Regions from separate parts of the Homo sapiens genome. Here regions 1, 2 and 3 are each linked to region 4. The links are contacts of gene promoters, found by promoter capture Hi-C in blood cells and fetal thymus (Javierre and others, 2016). All regions are on one chromosome and are shown on one strand. Each heading gives the region's core, a stretch centred on a gene start or on the middle of the fragment in contact. The rest is flanking DNA. Distances are from core to core; before and after follow the strand shown. Region 1 overlaps IQGAP2 (IQ motif containing GTPase activating protein 2). Region 2 overlaps IQGAP2 (IQ motif containing GTPase activating protein 2). Region 3 has its middle 43 kb from the start of F2RL1. Region 4 holds the start of SV2C-AS2 (SV2C antisense RNA 2).

Region 1 (4,655 bases), core at 382-2,881, 290 kb after region 4:
ATATATAAATTAAAACACAGTACACTTATGATTTAAAATTAGATTGGTAAAGATTAGAAAGATTTAACCCAGCGTAGGGATAGATATGGGGCCCAAACATCTCCTACACAGCTGCTGGGAGTATGAATTATACAGATTTTCTGCAGGGTGGTCTTAGTAATACAGATCAAAAGCCCATGATGCTGACAGTTACGTTCTAGAAAATAAGCCTGAAGGATATGAACCAAATAGCTTTGGCCACAGAGATGTTTCACAGCATTGTTTAGAATACTGAAAACCAGGAAACAAATGTTTAATTAATAACAGATTGCCTATAAATTAATAACATTTATGGTGCTTGTACATGTGAGAAATATGTGCAACCAGTAAAAATGATAATGTAAAGAATGACTGGAAAAGATATCCATACTAATATTAAGTGGGAAAAATAAGATTAAGATATATAGCATTATCTTGTTTTTTGCAAAAAGAAAGTGAAGTCAGTTATAAAGACAAAACCTCTGCAAATGTATATATGAATTTAAAATACATAAAAGGATATACACAAAAGAGCTTGAGTGGTAGCATTTGTTTTCTTATTCTTGCTTACTAAGACTTCTGTATTGGCTGAGTGTGGTAGTTCCTGTCTGTAATCTTAGCACTTTGGGAGGCTGAGACAGGAGGATCACTTGAGGCCAGGAGTTCAAGACCAACCTGGGCAACATAGGCCTCATCTTTACAAAAATAATAATAATAATTAAAAAGACTCCCTATGTTTCCTAAATAGAAATATAGTATTTGTAATAAAAGAAAAATAGCTTATTTTCTTAATTTCATTCAGGTTCTCTCATTAATATTTTCTTCCACTTCTCTGGCTCTGAAGCTCAAGGCTACTTATGCTTGAGGACACTCATTCATCCTCAACTGGCCATAGTTAACCTGTGGCTGTCCAACCTCATTTCTTCTTCCTCTCTCCTTATCCTTTTTGCTGTAAACCAATTTAGGTATCCACGGACAGGTCACTGAAAGAGATAGAGGAGGTGAATTATAAACGATTCCATTCTGCTCTTATAATTTGATACTTTGTATGTTAAACTTGTATTTAATGTAATATATTTAAATAAAATTTACTTACATGCTCTCGATGGTAACCCCTTCTTCCCATTTGCTTTGAAAGATTAAACTATCCCTTTTTATTCTGAAATCAGTTTGCTGCGAGACTTCTGTGGAGATCCAGAAAGATATAATAATGCATTTTAAGATGAACATTATGTTATATATTAAATACCTGTAATATCCTAAATGTAAAATATGTATCAGCTTTTCCTTAGTGGTTCTTTTTCATGCTCCTGCTCCTTATGTCCCTTCAATATGATGAAAAAAATATTCCTTTTGAAGTTGGGCCAAGATAATATAAAATGGTTAAATGGAAGAAGATATTAAAGGGGAAGGGTGTTCTGAAATCTAAGACGTATTTTTTTGGATAAGCTAAATCCAGATTTTAAATCATATAAACCTGGAGATCTGGCCAGGTGTGGTGATTCATGCCTGTAATCCCAGCACTTTGGGAGGCTGAGGCAGAAGAATCGCTTGAACCTGGGAGGCGGAGGCTGCAGTGAGCCTAGATCGTGCCATTGCACCCCAGCCTGGGCAACAAGAGCCAAACTCCATCTCAAAAAATAATAATAATAAAAATAAAGCAAACCAAACCAAACAAAAAAACCTGGAGAGCTTTACTTGCTTTACCAAAAGATCACCTCAGATTTCTTCAAATATCTTGACCTGGTAGTGTATTTTAAAATTTCTATTTTAAAATTTATGAAAATGTCACTTTAACTTTTTTTGAATTAAATCAGTAGTCTTGGTTTGAAGACCTTGCTTTGTGCTTCAGATTATAACTTTTCAGTGAAATTCTCCCAACCTTCCCTTAACCCTTAATTCAAACTGGAAATCGTTAGCTGTGCTAAAATGTTACCTGGCACTCTCAGTCAGTGACAATGTTATCTAGTCCTTGGCTTAATTATATGGCTGGACTGAGCCTTTAAGCAACCAGTATAGCTAGGAGTAGGGATCAGCAATGGGAATGCAGATATTTGTGGAATCGTAACTTTTCATTGTAATCAACCCAGTCCCAAAAAATGATCATCTAATGAAAGCCCAGGAGCCATATACCTGTTCTTAAAGCCAGTGGAAAGCAGGTGGCCACGACTCCTCTTTCTGCTGAGCTATCAAGTTCTTTGACTTTTTGTTGTTTGTTGAAATGTGCATTGTAAACCTCCATCATGCACATGAGGTGTGTTGTGTGGGGAGCTTATGTTGCCATATGTTTTCCAACAGAACTACTTGGCCCACGAGGAGCTTTTGATTGCTGTGGAAATGTTGTCTGCTGTTGCTTTACTAAACCAGGCCTTGGAAAGCAACGATCTTGTGTCTGTGCAGAATCAACTCAGAAGCCCCGCAATAGGCTTAAACAATCTGGACAAGGCATATGTGGAACGGTAAGGAACATTTTCCAAACCTTCTTTCAATGCAGAAATGCATGTTTGGCAGATCTTAAAAGTGAGGAATTTGCCTGTTGGTGGAGAAATCCATATACCATGCTCATGTTTCTTGAAAACTAGTCTGTTTTAAGAGTCCTTCTAATTAGTATCCTTGTTTACAGTATTCCTTCTGGGGAACAAGAAGAATCAGAAAGTGATCATCCTGTGGCAATTAATAAATGACTTTGTCGTTGGCAAAGATTATTTGATAGGCTGAAAATAAAGGAACTATTGGAAACATACCTTTCCTTGGGCGTCTTTTGGAAACCGCAGAATGTAGAAGAGTTGGAAGCAACTTTAATAATCATCCAGTCCAATTCTTTTATGTCACTGATGCAGAAACAGAATCCGGGTTATGGACCTAAAATTGGGCAGTTGGGCCCCAAACTCCACTCTTCTGATTATTAAGCCAAAGAAATCCTGAGACCACAGTGGGTCATGGCAGTGGGTAACAACATCCATTTATCTTTCATTTCATGTTTCTGAAGTGTGCTACCAGATAGTACAACTGATAGCATTGTTATAAAACACTATAGCGGATCTTGAGAGAAAATCAAATGGCCAGAATTGGGAGCCAGATGAGAGAGTCGCTGAGATAAAAGCCCCAGTTAAAATGAGTGAATCTTGGATTCTTGTAACCACCAGGGGGAGATGTCTGCACAGATCTTGACAAAAGCTCTTTTCAGCTACTGATTTTGGAACGGCTCTAATAGGCAGGTTGGCTAATTCTCTTGGGTCATGTACAGTTGCCAAGGAAAAACCAGAGATTTCTTAGGTTAAACAAATGGTATTTGACCACTTGTCTATGTAGTGAATGGCCAAAAGGTAATGGAAGGATGGTGGGTTTTCCTTGTTTTTAGTCTTTTTGGAGAAACTAATTCTCTTGTTCTACTTAAATTTGGCCATCTGGTTCATATGACTCCTTAGAGTGTGTTTCCAAGGTAATTTATATCTACCACCACTGTTTCTGTTACTTGTTAATGGCACCATTCTCTCCTGTAAGCTTAGAAACCTGAAGCCCAATTTGAGTTTCCCTCTGCCCTCAGCCGGGCACCCTCGTGCTCTAAAGAGCCTGCTGTCAGTAGCCAGTCTATGTGCCTTATACCTCTGCAAGATGTTTCCATTTCCCTGCAACCACCCTCACTTAGACTTCTCACTTTTGCTTCTGTAGTAACCCCTAAATTGGTCATCCTACTTCTTTTCTCTCCCCATTCATTAATCATTCCTACCTAACCAGGCTTTGCCATACTTTCTCAGTGCTAGAGTAGAAGACAGACCCGGTCAATCCCTTATGAAGCTTACAGGCTAATGGGGCATCTTGGTGAGATAACTGTCAAGACTATTCCACATATTTAGCATCCCTGGCAACTGTCCTCCACATGACATTAGCCCCTGACTCACCCATTCTGATTATCAAAAATGCCTGCTTCTTCATTTACAAATACCCTTAAAGAAGTGGTCCCATTCTATTTGAAAACCATATTCATACCTGTAGTTTCCAGCTGGGACCTACAGATGGAGCCTCACAGTTCGAGTGTTCTGTGTGAAGAACTTTTAAAATGTTTTGATTTTTTTTTTTTAATTTAAATACATTCTGGATCTGGAAGACCCAGTACTGACATGGGATTTAAGGGCCCACTTGGGTTCTTGTATTGACACTTGTATTGGCCCCAAATGATCTTCTACAGCCTTGGCATTTTACTTCCAAAGTCAGCATCTTAACTTGGGATCTTGGAATCCCAGTTTTGCAGATTATCAAGTTTGAGAAACACGGCTCTGTCCAGGGCCTCTCCCCATAGAGTGCAGGTTCTTCATAGCACAAGTGTGCTGTGCATGGCCACCTTGACAAATTCATGCAAAGTCTCTCCCTGTTCACCGTGGCTTCTACTCTTGGGGCTGTGTTTGCCCAGAGAGATTCTTTTGTCTAATTCTCACAAAAGTATTGTATGGGTTAACATTAGCCTTGGGCATACACTGTTCCCAGATTAACTGTTCTAAAATGTAACCCTATTCATAATTCTGTTTGATTGTTCCTTGTTCACATCCGAATTAAGAACAGACTTCTCATTCTAAGCATGTTGCTCTGACCTTACCTCCAGCTCCATCCCTACTCGTATTTTGTGCTTTAGCCAAGTC
Region 2 (4,243 bases), core at 457-2,956, 310 kb after region 4:
GGAAACCTTTCACATCTTGATTAAATTACATTAGACCAAGATTTTTACAAAGGTCAGTGTTTAATACTTCAACTACATAATATATGGTTATACAAACTGAGATAGAATGTTATTATATTGCAGAAATATAAAACCTAAAATATTGACAAAGGTTTTTTTTGTTTCATTAGAACTTTTCTGGGAGTTATCTAAATTCAGGAATTTATGACTTGATTTGCACATGGCCTAGTTTCTGGTCATTTAATTCATTTGTAACTCTTATGTTGAACCTGGCTGTTTAACTGAAGTGGAGGTGTGGCCGTCCCATAAATATACTATTATTTTCAGTCTTCTGGTGAACAACTGAAAAAGCAGACTTGGCTGGGCACAGTGGCTCATGCCTGTAATCCCAGCACTTTGTAAGGCTGAGGTGGGGGGATCACTTGAGGTCAGGAGTTTGAGACCAGCCTGACCAACATGGTGAAACCCCATCTCTACTAAAAATGCAAAAATTAGCTGAGCGTGGTGGCGGGCGCCTGTTATCCCAGCTACTTGGGAGGCTGAGGCAGGAGAATAGCTTGACCCTGAGAGGCGGAGGTTGCAGTGAGCAAGCCTGGGTGACAGAGCAACACTCCATCTCAAAAATAAAATAAATAAGAAAAAGCAGACTTTACATTGATAAGATTCAGCTTTTACTTTTGGTTTTACATTTAACTCTAGTAATCGTTAGTTCAATGTTTCATAATTTAAACCGTTGACTTAAATTCATCTGATTTGTAATTTCTCTCTTCAGTTTGGCCTATAAGACTAATACTTTAAGCTTTGAAGTAAGATTGTTACTGCCTTCTCATCTGGGTAGAAATCTGTGTGGTGTATCTTCTACAGTGATAAGTTATGAAGGAAGGCAAATACCCTTCAAAAGAACTGAGACACATAAATGAACTCATAGAGCTTAGTTTTTAGGTTATAGCTGGGGAGTGTTGGGTTCTCTTAGATCTTGTAAACAGAGAAAAATTAGCTCCTGCTTCCCTGTCTCTTTTTTTCCTCCTCTAGTCTTCCCCTTTCCACCCGGCTTCCTGTTTGAGCCTCCCCCATCCATTCTTGAAAGAAATGGAAAATCTTGCTGATGCTTCCCTTGTAGTCTGCCGCATAGCTAGAGGTGATTGTGGAAGCAGGCACCAACACTTCCCCAGAGGTCTCCTTTAGCCCAGATGTTGCACGATGAAATAACAGATAGTTTATCTCATTTTCAGAGCCCTTTCCACATGCATTATCTCACGTTAACCTCTGAGGAAAATAGTGTTAGAAGCCTGCCAGAGGAACCAGTGACTATTTCCTCTCCTTCCTGCCCCCATCCATCTTAAGTTTTAAATGACGGAGTCGGTGCCAGATCCATTACCTTTCATTCATCACAGTCTTGACTTAGGATTTAGAACACGACACTTATTCCTACACATAGGTAAAATGTTCCCATTTGTTAAATGTCACATGTTTCCTGAAAATATCTCTGCTGATAATTATTTACTTGCCATCTCAGAAAAGATTTTATAAAACACAATTGCTACCTGGAAGTTCCACTTAATATCTGTCAGGGCTGCTTTTGTAGCAGGACCATCAGAATCAACCCAAAGTTAAATAGGAATATTTACCTATAATAGGAATAATGCAATACATTTTCATTGCTGCTGTTGCTTCCTTTCTAAAGCTATCTTTAACTACTTAGTCTTTGCTCCCCCTGCAACTTGACACCTTTACCATAGGTTAACCCTTTCTCACCTATGTCTGGATCATGTGTCTGCAGTATATATTGCCCTGATCACATTGTATTATAATTCTTTTTCTTTTTTTTCTTCTTTTCTTTTTTTTTTTTTTTTTTTGTGAGACAGAGTCTCACTCTGTCCCAAGGCTGGAGTTCAGTGGCCTGACCTTGGCTTACTGCAACCTCCACCCACCAGGTTCAAGCAATCCTCCCGCCTTCCTCCCAAGTAGCTGGGACTACAGGCATGCACCACCACTCCTGGCTAATTTTTGTATTTTTAGTAGAGATGAGGTTTCACCATGTTGGCCAGGCTGGTCTCGAACTCCTGACCTCAAGTGGTCCACCACCCTCAGCCTCTCAAAGTGCTGGGATTACAGGTGTAAGCCACCATGCCCAGCTATATGTCTTGACACATCTGTCTCTTACACTACATTGTTAGGTCCTTGAGGACAATCACCATGTTGTTGTTTGTTTTTAATTTTTGTCTCTGTGTCTGATAAATATCGACGATCCCTGTGTTTCTCTCAAATTAAAAATATCCCATGGTACCCTGGGACACCTTGACACTTAGTTTGGGAACCACAATAATTGATTGAGGGAGAGAGTGTTTGACTAGGGTAGCCCGGGAAGACTTTTTGGAGTAGGTAGCATTTGAGTTGAGACCTGAATGGTAAGAAAAAGCCAACAGCCACACAGTGAGGGTAGAGTATTGTGGTCTGAAAGAGACTCGTGTGAAGGTCTAGAACAGGAAGGGGGAAGTAAACGGGTGTGAGGTGCAGCCAGAGAGGCAGTAGGCAGGGCCATGCCGTTGGAGCCCCGCCATCCCTGAGAAGGCACCCTGTGTTTCCTTCTAACTGCCGGGGGAAGCCTTTGGGGAAGCTTTAAGTAGAGGAGTGGTGCACTGAGCTATCTATTTTGAAGGGATCCTCTGGGCCCTCTGTAGAGGGCCACTGTGGTGAGGGCAAGCTTAGATGCAGCAGAAGCTGCTAGGGGGCTGATGCAGCTGTCCAGTTGGGAGATGATGGGGGGCTGGACTAAAGAGTGGTGGGGAAGAAGGAGGAAGTGGTCGGGTTTGGGGTCTGCTTCATTAGGAGTGTGTACAGTATATGGCAGAGCTGGATAGTTGCTGATTAAGAATTTGTGGGAATTATGATTAAATGGCTCCTCAAAAGCAGTTATTAATTCTGTTTCCTCATCATTCACTCTTCTTTCTTTTTATTCTGTGACATTGTCCCCAGGACTCTGAGAGTGTTTCCAAAGTGCTTTGGCTGGATGAGATACAGCAAGCCGTCGATGATGCCAACGTGGACAAGGACAGAGCAAAACAATGTAAGCCCTCACCTCCTTTGCTCTTGAAACTTGCCTTTTTGGATTTGGTTATGTGCCTGAAGTCATGTGATTTTTAATTTCTGAAAGATTTGGATTCTTACCAAGTTTTAGTTCTTGGACACATAATTATACCGAAATTAGTTGGTTGCCCTATTGTCAGTGATTTGACTCTATCTCCAACAAAATGTAACAATGTTGCTGAACAAAATCCAGAAGGTAAAAAATAGTTTTTAAGCTCTCAAATTGTATAATTGAATAAAATTCTTTTTTTCTCTTGATTTTTAGAGAACTAGACCATTTCTACTTAATAAATGCCTTTTTCTCCTTTCCATGGCCTTTATAGTTACCAGGGTTTTCCACAGAAACAGAACCAATAGGAGACCTATGGAGTTGGCTAGCTGATCATGGTGCAACTAGAAGTGAAATAGACTGGCAGTCTACTCAATTCTTACTTAATCTGTACAACTGGATGAGTTTTGGGTCAAGCAAACAGAAGTCTACCTTGAATCATAAAAATAGTCATGGACCCTCAATCAGTTCCCAGAATGGGGCCAGTTTACAAACCCAGAACCCCTCAAATGAAGGGAAGGCCAGGCCCCTTGAGGAAAAACTCAGCTACACTACCAAAAATTTATACTGTTAGTCTTTCTTCCACCCCTCCCCCAAAGGGACCTATGGCCTTTTACCAGGGTGACTGTACTTAGGAGAAAGTACATAATCAGACTTTTGGGAATTAGTGGACACTTGCTCTGAACTGACACTAATTCCAAGAGGCCCAAAACATAACTGTGGTCCACCAGTCAATGTAGGGGTTTGTGGAGGTCAGGTGATGAATAGAATATTAGCTCAGATCCATCTCACAGTGGGTCCCTAAACTCTTTCTGTGGTTACTTCCCCACTTCTGGAGTGCATAATCGGAATAGGCATAATCAGCAACTGGCAGAATCCCCACATTGGTTCAAATGATAAAATTGTTTAACCCTCTGTTTTTAAGGAAGAATAACATGAAAATTCACATGATAGTCTGAAATAGCTTCTAAATTGCTATACTAACATTCTCCATATATAAATTAAGATTCCTAAAAATATATTTCACTAACCTGCCAACTGATGGCATAATTAGAATCTATTCTGTTGTATCAGGTCAGAGAAGGTTCTTAAGATGACTTTGTCTTA
Region 3 (4,703 bases), core at 1,572-4,071, 460 kb after region 4:
TCTTTCATTAAGAAAGGTAATGCCGCCTGGCGCAGTGGCTCACACCTGTAATCGCAGCACTTTGGGAAGCTGAGGCGGGCGGATCACCTGAGGTTGGGAGTTTGAGACCAGCCCTACCAAAATGGAGAAACCCCGTCTCTACTAAAAATACAAAATCAGCAGGGCGTGGTGGCGCATGCCTGTAATCCCAGCTACTCGGGATGCTGAGGCAGGAGAGTTGCTTGAACCCGGGAGGCGGAAGTTGCGGTGAGCCGAGATCACGCCATTGCATACCAGCCTGGGCAACAAGAGCTAAACTCCATCTCAAAAAAAAAAAGAAAAAGAAAGAAAGGTAATGCCTAAGCTGGGCGCGGTGTTCACGCCTGTAATCCCAGCACTTTGGGAGGCCGAGGCGGGTGGATCACGAGGTCAGGAGACTGAGACCATCCTGGCTAACACGGTGAAACCCCGTCTCTACTAAAAATACAAAAAATTAGCCGGGCGTGGTGGTGGGCGCCTGTAGTCCCAGCTACTTGGGAGGCTGAGGCAGGAGAATGGCGTGAACCCGGGAGGCGGAGCTTGCAGTTAGCTGAGATCGCGCCACTGCACTCCAGCCTGGGCGACAGAGCGAGACTCCGTCTCAAAAAAAAAAAAAAAAAAAAAAAAAAAAAAAGTAAAAAGTAAAATTTTAAAGAAAACAAATTTCCCAAGCATTTCTCAGTTTGCTTTTGAGAAATGATTACGGTCATTTCCTTTAAGTGGTTAGTTCAGTGAATTATAGCTTTTTGTTAATTTGATTTCACAGCACAGTTTTGAAAATCACCCCAAAAAGTACTGCATGGCTTGAGCTGGCTTTTAACAGAATAAAATTCAATTCTGCTTTGAAGTCTTTATGACCTCCTTTACAGAAATGGTGACATTGTGGGGTTCTGAGCGCACCCTGAAATCACAGGTCTTGTGTGACACTGTGAAAATTACCCAGAACCCTGGGCACCCACTCCTCCACTACGGAAGTCACCAATGCTGGCAAATAGCATAACGGGCTTGTGGCGCCCCCTACTGTCCACTAGGCAAACTGCATCACCTTCCTGAGCTACGTTCCAGGGTGAAGTTAAAAAAGAAATCTGCACTTGGAAAGACTGCATGAAGGCAGTGTCAGGCACGTGTATTTATTTACGTTCTTTAATCAATAGATATGATTTCCAAAATTATTTACATAACAATTTGGGAAATTTGAACGTAAGATGGATATTAGATGATTTGGGAATATTAAGTAATTTTCAAGCCTGGGACCGACACCTGTATGGGAGCTGAGGCAGGAGGGTCACTTAAGTGCAGAAGTTCGAGACAGACAACACAGTGAGGCACCGTCTCTACAAAAAGTTAAAAAAAAAATTAACCAGGTGTGGTGGCAGGTGTCTGGTCCCAGCTACGTAGGAGGCTGAGGTGGGAGGATTACTAGAGCCTAGAGGCCGAGGCTGCAGTGAGTGATGATTGTACCACTGTATATCAGCCTGGATCAGAGTGAGACTCTATCTCTAAATAAATAATGATAATTTTGTTTTGTTTTGTTTTTTTGAGATGGAGTCTTGCCCTGTTGCCCAGGCTGGAGTGCAGTGGCACGATCTCAGCTCACTGCAACCTCCACCTCCTGGGTTCAAGCAATTTTGTCTCAGCCTCCCAAGTAGCTGGGATTACAGGCCCACACCACCACACCTGGCTAATTTTTGTATTTTTAGTAGAGACAGGGTTTCGCCATGTTGGCCAGGCTGGTCTCAAACTCCTTACCTCAAGTGATCCAATCGCCTCGGCCTCCGAAAGTGCTGGGATTACAGGCATGAGCCACAGCTCTCGGCCAATGATAATAATTTTTAAAAAGCAAACTTCTACTAATGAATATCTACATAGAGTGTCCTTATTTTAAGAGATGCATGCTGAAGTTTTTAGGGATAAAATGTCATAATATCTGCAACCAACTGTCAAATGGCTTTAACTCTCATTCAGAGCGAAAGCCAAAGCCCTACGATGACCTACAAGGCCACGTTTAATCTTCACCACCCCTCTTCTCTGTCCTCATCTCCTCCTCCAATCCCTCCTTCTCCCAGCACCAGCCACACTGACCTTTTCAATCATCTGCATACTCTGGCCTCTTCACACCCACTTCCCTGGGCCCAAGATGCCCTTCTCATTAGAGTCTGCATTGCTGGCTCCCTCACTGCCTTCCTACCTCTCTTCAAGAGACTTCTTTTTTTTTTTTCCTTCTTTTTTTGTGAGACAGAGTCTTACTCTGTCACCCAGGCTGGAGGGCAGTGGCAGGATCACAGCTCACTGCAGCCTTGAACTCCTAGGCTCAAGCAGATCTTCCCACCTCAGCCTCCGAAGTAGCTGGGACTGCAGGCACCGGCCACCATGCCTGGCTAATGTTTTTATTTTTTGTACAGGTGGAATCTGCCCATGTTGCTCAGGCTGGTTTCAAAATCCTGGACAGGAGATCCTCCCGCCTCAACCTCCCCACATGTTGGGATTACAGGTGTGAGCCACCTTGTCCGGCCACAAAGATATCTTAGTGACACTTCCTGGCCACAGGCTAAAATTTAATCTACCACTTACCTGCGTTGTTTTCTCTTCTTCGCTCTTAATACAATTTAATGCACTAAAATTTCACTTATCTTTTTTATTGTCTGTGTTGCCCAAAACATCAGTTTACATAAAAGCTTTGATAGTGGTTGTGTTCATTGCTGTATCCACTGGACCTAAACTAGTAACCAGAATATACTTAAAACTCATCTTATATACAATGAGTGAAAAAATAAAAAGCAGTGTGTGGGCTCAAATTTTTACTCTTATAGTCAATTTGCAAATTTTGTTTTAGACTGTGGCATGTACAATGTGTGAAAGATGCCATCTGTTGATGATTGGCAGATTTGACTGGTTTGTGCTCTGAATTAAGAATAATTTACTTTTTCCAATATAAGCTTTAAGTTGAGCCTTTCTAAGTTAAAAAAAAAATCTTCCATCGTATGTCTTTTAGGTACCATTGACATCTTTCCAGGCTTTCACGACAAATTCAAAGGTCAGTGATGGCTATACACCCCCTGAGATGGGGTAGCCGGGTTATGGGTGATTTTTGTCTATCTTTAGTAAACATAAAATTTCACCCAAAATTGTTTCTAGAACAAACATAAATATAAGAGTAGGATATTAGGGCCAGGCGCAGTGGCTCATGCCTATAATCCTAGCACGTTGGGAGGCCGAGGTGGGCGGATCACTTGAGGTCAGGAGTTCAAGACCAGCCCTGCCATCATGGTGAAACCCCATCTCTACTAAAAATACAAAAATTAGCCGGGCGTGGAGGCGCGTGCCTGTAATCCCAGCTACTCGGGAGGCTGAGGCAGGAGAATTGCTTGAACCCGGGATGTGGAGGTTGCAGTGAGCCGATATTGTGCCATTGCACTCCAGCCTGGGGTATGACAGTGAAACACTGTTTCAAAAAAAAAAAAAAAAAAAAAAGGAGTAGGATGTTAGATAAGTTCAGGGATGATAAAGCCATAATGGGTTAACTAGGATGGGGGTTGATTCGTAAGCTTTGAGATCGACTTTTAGAATCAGGCATATAAATCCTGCTGGATTTGAATGCTGTGTAGGATAGAGCACAGGTCTGAAAAAATATGAAAATTCTAATATCTTTATGTACCTAAAACATAGCCTCTTGCGTTTTTTATTTTTATTTACTTATTTATTTTTGAGACAGAGTCTCGCTCTGTTGCCCAGGCTGGAGTGCAGTGGGACAATCTTAGCTTACTGCAACCTCTGCCTCCCAGGTTCAAGCGATTCTCCTGCCTCAACCTCCCAAATAGCTGGGATTACAGGTGCACGCCAGCAGACCCAGCTAATTTTTTGTATTTTTAGTAGAGACAGGGTTTCACTGTCTTAGCCAGGATCATCTCGATCTCCTGACCTTGTGATCCATCCACCTTGGCCTCCCAAAGTGCTGAGATTACAGGCGTGAGTCACGACACCCGGCCGCCTCTTGGGTTATTTTTAAAATCACAGAGACTAGGCTAGTATTCCTAGCAGCAGGTAGAAGGCAAACCCTGTCCATATGGACCTCTGGATGCTGACAAATAAAAATGCATCTCTTTATCAACCTTGTAAACCAGCCCCCTTCCCATTACTGTAGTTGGCTGAGATTCTCACACTGTGAGATCTCCATTCCATTTATTCATATTACTCATTTACCAAAAGTGTATTGGGCCCAAATTGTGTCAGGCAAACTGAAGAGAACAAAAATGAATATTACACAGTGTACAGAGAAATTATGTTTTAAATTTATTAGAACTCGAATTGCAAAAAGAATCAGTAAGGTTGTCCTTGGTGCCATGGTTAACAGTCCTTTCAGATAAAGATCAGATACTTCCAAGTTCAGTTAAAACTTACTTTCGGCTGGGCCCAGTGGCTCACGCCTGTAATCCCAGCACTTTGGGAGGCCAAGGCAGATGGATCACTTGAGGTCAGGAGTTTGAGACCAGCCTGGCCAACGTGGTGAAACTCCATCTCTACTAAAAATACAAAAATTAGTCAGTCATGGTGGCAGGCATCTGTAATCCCAGCCACTCAGGAGGCTGAGGTGGGAGGATTGCTTGAGTCCGGGAGGTGGAGGTTGCAGTGAGCTGAGATTGCACCATTCCACTCCAGCCTGGGCGACAGAGCAAGACTCTGTCTGA
Region 4 (4,479 bases), core at 802-3,301:
CGACAGAGCGAAACTCCATCTCAAAAAAAAAAAAAAAAAAAAAAAAAACAGAAAGAAAGAAAGAAAAATGTAGGTTGGAAAGGGGAAAAGTCAACACTCAACATGTTCACAGATATTTAGGGATACATTCAACAAAGCTTGGTGCTTGATTAGATGTTAGGGGGAAGAAAAGAGGTTGTCAAAGAAAGATGATTCCAGTTTCTGCGTGTACAGTTGAGTGAATGGAGATGGCAGGTTTTGTTTATGTTTTTTAATTTTAAAAACCACCTGCAGGAGCACAATGGCATTTTGAGGCTGGGACACAGGAGGGACAGTGGGTCTGGGCTGTGGTCAAGAAGGTAATAAGTTCCATTTTGGACATGTTGAGTTTTTACATCAACCTGGGGCTGTCCGATTGGCATTTGAATATTTTTGTTTGGATGCCAGAAAGATACCTGAGCTGGGGATAGAGAGGTCATTCACTATTTCATTCAAAAAAAAAAAATGATTATGGAATGCATATCCTGTGCCAGGAACTATTTTAGTCATTGGGAGACAGCAGTGAACAAAACAGACAGAAAGCTTTGCCTTGATAGAGCTTATATTCTATAATAGTTTGAGGAAGACAGTCCAACAAACAGATAAGTAAAGTAGATGTAGTATATTGGATGGTGCTAAGTGCTGTAGAGAAAAATAAAGCTACGTGGAGCATAGAGAATGCTGGGGTAAGGAGAGTTACAACTGTAAATAGAATGGTCTAGGGGGATGTGACTGTAAAGCTGACATTTGAGCAAAGACCCAGGCAGACATCTGGAGAGAGTGTATTCACAGCAGAGGCAACAGCAGGTGCAAAGGTCCTGAGGTGGGAGTGTGAGAGACCAGTTGGAAGAGAGGCAAAGCTTGTCTGGCTGGAGCAGAATGACCAAGGTAGAGGGTAAGAAGCCATGGGGTCAGAGTGGACAATAAAAGGGCTTTGGTCTTCTTGCTGAGTAAAATGAAATCCAATGTGGGGTTTGGGGGCAGATGAGTGACATGAACTGACTTATGAAGTCCACAGCAAGAAATGTGGCAAGAGGTAATGGTGCCAATGGAGGTGGTGAGAAAGTGGTTAGATTCTGAAAATATGTCTAAGAGAGAGACCTGGAATAGTTCAAGTCAAAGGAAACAGAAAACAAAGGCCTCCATAGAAATAACATGTCTGAGAGGCAAGAGTTGGAGTCTGGGGGTAAATCCATCAACGTAAGAAAATCCAGAGGTAACACAGATCTGGACTAAGAAATAACAGACACCAGAGTTAGGATACCAGGCCAGGAGACAAGAGTTCAGTGAGCTAGAAACTCAGGCTGGCAGAGTGGAATACAAAAAAACTAGCCTGGAAGCAAGTGGTCAAAGTATTAAGATGTCTTGATCTTCAAAAATGGTGTATGACATTGAGAGAAGGCTTTGCAAGTTAGACTTCCCTATAACCTCTGTGCTTAGGTCAGTAGGGCAGTAGTAGTTTGCAGCTGGTTCTCAATGACATTCATTGGACTGACTTGCCCAGGGCTAGAACTCACCTCAGGTAGAGGCAAGATATCAGAACTGTCTGCAGTGGAAGTTGAAGGCACCTCTCTGCTCATGCACTCACCTTGGTCAGTCACCTCTATCTTGATCCTAAACCTTCTTCCCAACTCTGTAGTAATAGCCTGAGATTCTTGCCAAGGCCAGCTTCCCAGTGCTGTGGTACGTCTGCCACAATGATTGAGATGCAGTGGTCGATGCAGTGCCCTTCTCCCCAAGGCTCTTAATTCTTAGGCGTAGACTTGAAGAAGCCAGGAATACTTGTACTTCTGCAGGGATGAGTGAGGTGAAGCGGGAAGACGGAAAAGCAAATGTTGCATTCAGGAATTTGTCCTTGATTGTGAGGCTGGAAAGACAAGATTGCTTTGAGAAGCATTATGAGGAAAGAAATGAAGAGCAGGGCAAAATGATAGACCTTTGAAGTTTGAGCCATTATTGAATATACAAGTCATTGTATAGTCTTTTAACAGTTTCTACATCAGCCCCTCACCTGTGTCAAAGATAAGCAGAGAGCCTATTATATGTAATGTAGATCACAAACAATTGATGTGGCATGAGATTCTTCTAATAGACATGAAATATGAATGTGACATGAGCCAGACATAGAATGGATTTTCCAGCTTGCCGTAAATCTGAAAGGAGCCCCAACCATCTAACATACTGGTGTGGGGGAGCTTCCTTTTCCCTCATTTCTCCGTCCCCAGTCCCTGCCACCAGCAAAATTACTTTCAACCCTCTTTGCGGTAGAACTGAGAACACCAACAGAAGATGCATTTCATTTTTTGGGTTTAGTCTGTGCTGGTCAGCTTCCCTCAATACCCTAACTGGGAAAAATAAGTCAATTTTCCCTCATCTCTTGAAGTCTTCAAAATGAAAGTATATGTAATGACAGGTTGAAATGGATTTTTTCCATCCATCAGGGTCCCTACTTTTCTCTCCCTGCTTTGTGAAAGTTGTAAATCTCTCAAAAGTCATAAATGTAGCTCCCGCGGTGTAGGCCTGTTCCAGCTCATTCCAGTTCTAGGTTTTGGCCTTTATGTTTCTCTGCGTCCAGGTGTTAACTTTCTGCTGCCACTATGTGGCTGTGGCCAAGTCCCCTGCTCACATTTCCTGTGTGCTTATGGCTCAGGGGCCACTTTTTTTTTTTGGGGGGGGGGACAGGGTCTCACTCTGTCACCCAGGCTGGAGTGCAGTGACGCAATCTCCACTCACTGCAATCTCTGCTTCCCAGATTCAAGCAATTCTCCTGCCTCGGCCTCCTGAGTAACTGGGATTATAGGTGCCTTCCACCACTCCCAGCTAATTTTTGTATTTTTAATAGAGACGGGGTTTCACCGTGTTGGCCAGGCTGGTCTCGAACTCCTGACCTCAAGTGATCTGCCTGCCTCGGCCTCCCAACGTGCTGGGATTACAGACATGAGCCAGCGTGCCCAGCCATTAGGGGCCATCTTTACCCCTCCTCCGTGGCGCTCGGGGCCAGGAGCGCACACCTTGTGAGATGCAGCCCACGCTCTCAGGGCCGTCCTGCAACTCTGCACAGACTCCCAGGGCCAGGCAAGCCTGTCTCATGGTGTCGTTTGGCCGCATGTTCCTGCCTTTCTCTGCCTACCTTCTTCCCTTTTCTTTCCCCCTTATGCCCCCTTATGCATGCACAGTTTCAGACATGAGGTCAGAAAGGATTTGAGGATCTGATTGTTCACACCTGCCGATCCCTGAGAGTCCTGGGCAGCTGCTGCCATCACCCAGTGCAGTGGGATTGGTCTCTTCCTTGATGAGCTAAAATCAAAACATTTTCCCAGAATTAAGCAACCCAAGCCCTTCCCTTAGGACTGTCCTTGTTTTGACAGAGTTCTCTTGTTTCCTCCCCATTCTTCAGTTCCGAAGGTCTGTCATCTTGGATCTCTTACTGACCAGCTGTGCGACCTCAGGGACACCACTCAGCCTAGCTGGGCCTGGATTGTTTGAGATTTAAATGAGGAGTATGAAATAAATAGCATCTCAGGGCCTTTCTAGCTCTAGAATTCTCTTCACTGTCGTCATCTGGTATTCTGTAATGGCAATTTCATTCATTCTTTCTTGAATACATTCTACGTCTAATATAAAGATAAATATCTCACTTATTTGTGAAGATTTTGGTACAGAGGAATCTTTCAGCTATCGCGACTAACCAACCTATGTAATCCACTCCATCCCTGGCCCTCTGCTCTGCTTGATTTTTCCTTATACGCCTTATCATTATATTATATATGTTTATGCTTTGGCTATCCAGCAAAAGTCAGATTCATTTTGTCTCTGGTAGTTAGAAGTAGAGGGTGAAGGGGGTGGGGAATATATGCTTCCTGCTCCCACAACCTTGCCATCAGGCAATATATTACAATGGAAGCAAATCCTGCCAAGTGTACTAGCACAAAAACAGTCACAAAGTTTGTTTTTGAGCTCCAAGGAAGTCCATCTCGCTGTCCTTGGGTACTGAGCAAGCCCTTGCATGAAAGGGCCATGTGCTTGATATGCTGACAGCAGGGCCACCAGACTTGTGGGCCAGCTAAACAAGGGAATGCCCCTTTAATTGTGGGGTGCAGGATAAGGGGGCTCTAGAATCTGGAGTCTAGACCAGGAGTACCATTTCACCAACTTGAGGCTGCAGGGCTTGGAGGACGCTTGTATGTTCATTAGGCTAAGGGCAGAACATTCTTTCCAATCATTGCTTATACAGAACAGCACTCACATCATCAGTGAAAAAATCATCTCCGTGGTCATTAACAAACCTTCTCATGCAGATTTCTAAAATGATCTTTAAAGCACTAAGTAACCATCTCTGGCCTGTTGATTCTTGATTAATGTGCTTTAAATTATATGGGTATGCATTAGAGACAATTTATCTATCAATCATATTGTTTATACTGAAGTACTTAAAGGAAATTATCACCCAGACCTTATGAT

Evidence for each region. The method cuts DNA at HindIII sites, captures the fragments that hold promoters and counts their contacts. A CHiCAGO score of 5 or more calls a contact.
Region 1: a contact is called between a fragment that was not itself captured here and the fragment with the promoter of SV2C-AS2 in region 4, in 6 of 17 cell types (total CD8 T cells, naive CD4 T cells, activated CD4 T cells and 3 more). The highest score is 7.2, in total CD8 T cells.
Region 2: a fragment that was not itself captured here is called in contact with the fragment with the promoter of SV2C-AS2 in region 4 in 1 of 17 cell types (total CD8 T cells); the score reaches 5.3 in total CD8 T cells.
Region 3: a contact is called between a fragment that was not itself captured here and the fragment with the promoter of SV2C-AS2 in region 4, in 1 of 17 cell types (M2 macrophages). The highest score is 5.4, in M2 macrophages.

Annotation. Positions count from the first base shown.
Region 1 is chr5:76,598,496-76,603,150 of GRCh38, forward strand. IQGAP2 (IQ motif containing GTPase activating protein 2) reads left to right here. Exons shown (of 36, transcript NM_006633.5): 11 at 2,317-2,477. Among named protein-coding and RNA genes, the nearest start is that of F2RL2, 23 kb to the right of the region's middle. The HindIII fragment of the contact is 3,778 bases long and covers 1-3,520 here.
Region 2 is chr5:76,624,434-76,628,676 of GRCh38, forward strand. IQGAP2 (IQ motif containing GTPase activating protein 2) reads left to right here. Exons shown (of 36, transcript NM_006633.5): 14 at 2,977-3,067. Among named protein-coding and RNA genes, the nearest start is that of F2RL2, 3.2 kb to the left of the region's middle. The HindIII fragment of the contact is 1,818 bases long and covers 798-2,615 here.
Region 3 is chr5:76,773,718-76,778,420 of GRCh38, forward strand. No RefSeq gene overlaps it. Among named protein-coding and RNA genes, the nearest start is that of F2RL1, 43 kb to the right of the region's middle. The HindIII fragment of the contact is 261 bases long and covers 2,692-2,952 here.
Region 4 is chr5:76,309,578-76,314,056 of GRCh38, forward strand. SV2C-AS2 (SV2C antisense RNA 2) reads right to left here and starts at 2,052. Exons shown (of 4, transcript XR_001742750.2): 1 at 1,607-2,052. All of the region lies in intron 12 of SV2C (synaptic vesicle glycoprotein 2C), which reads left to right. The HindIII fragment of the contact is 6,036 bases long and covers 877-4,479 here.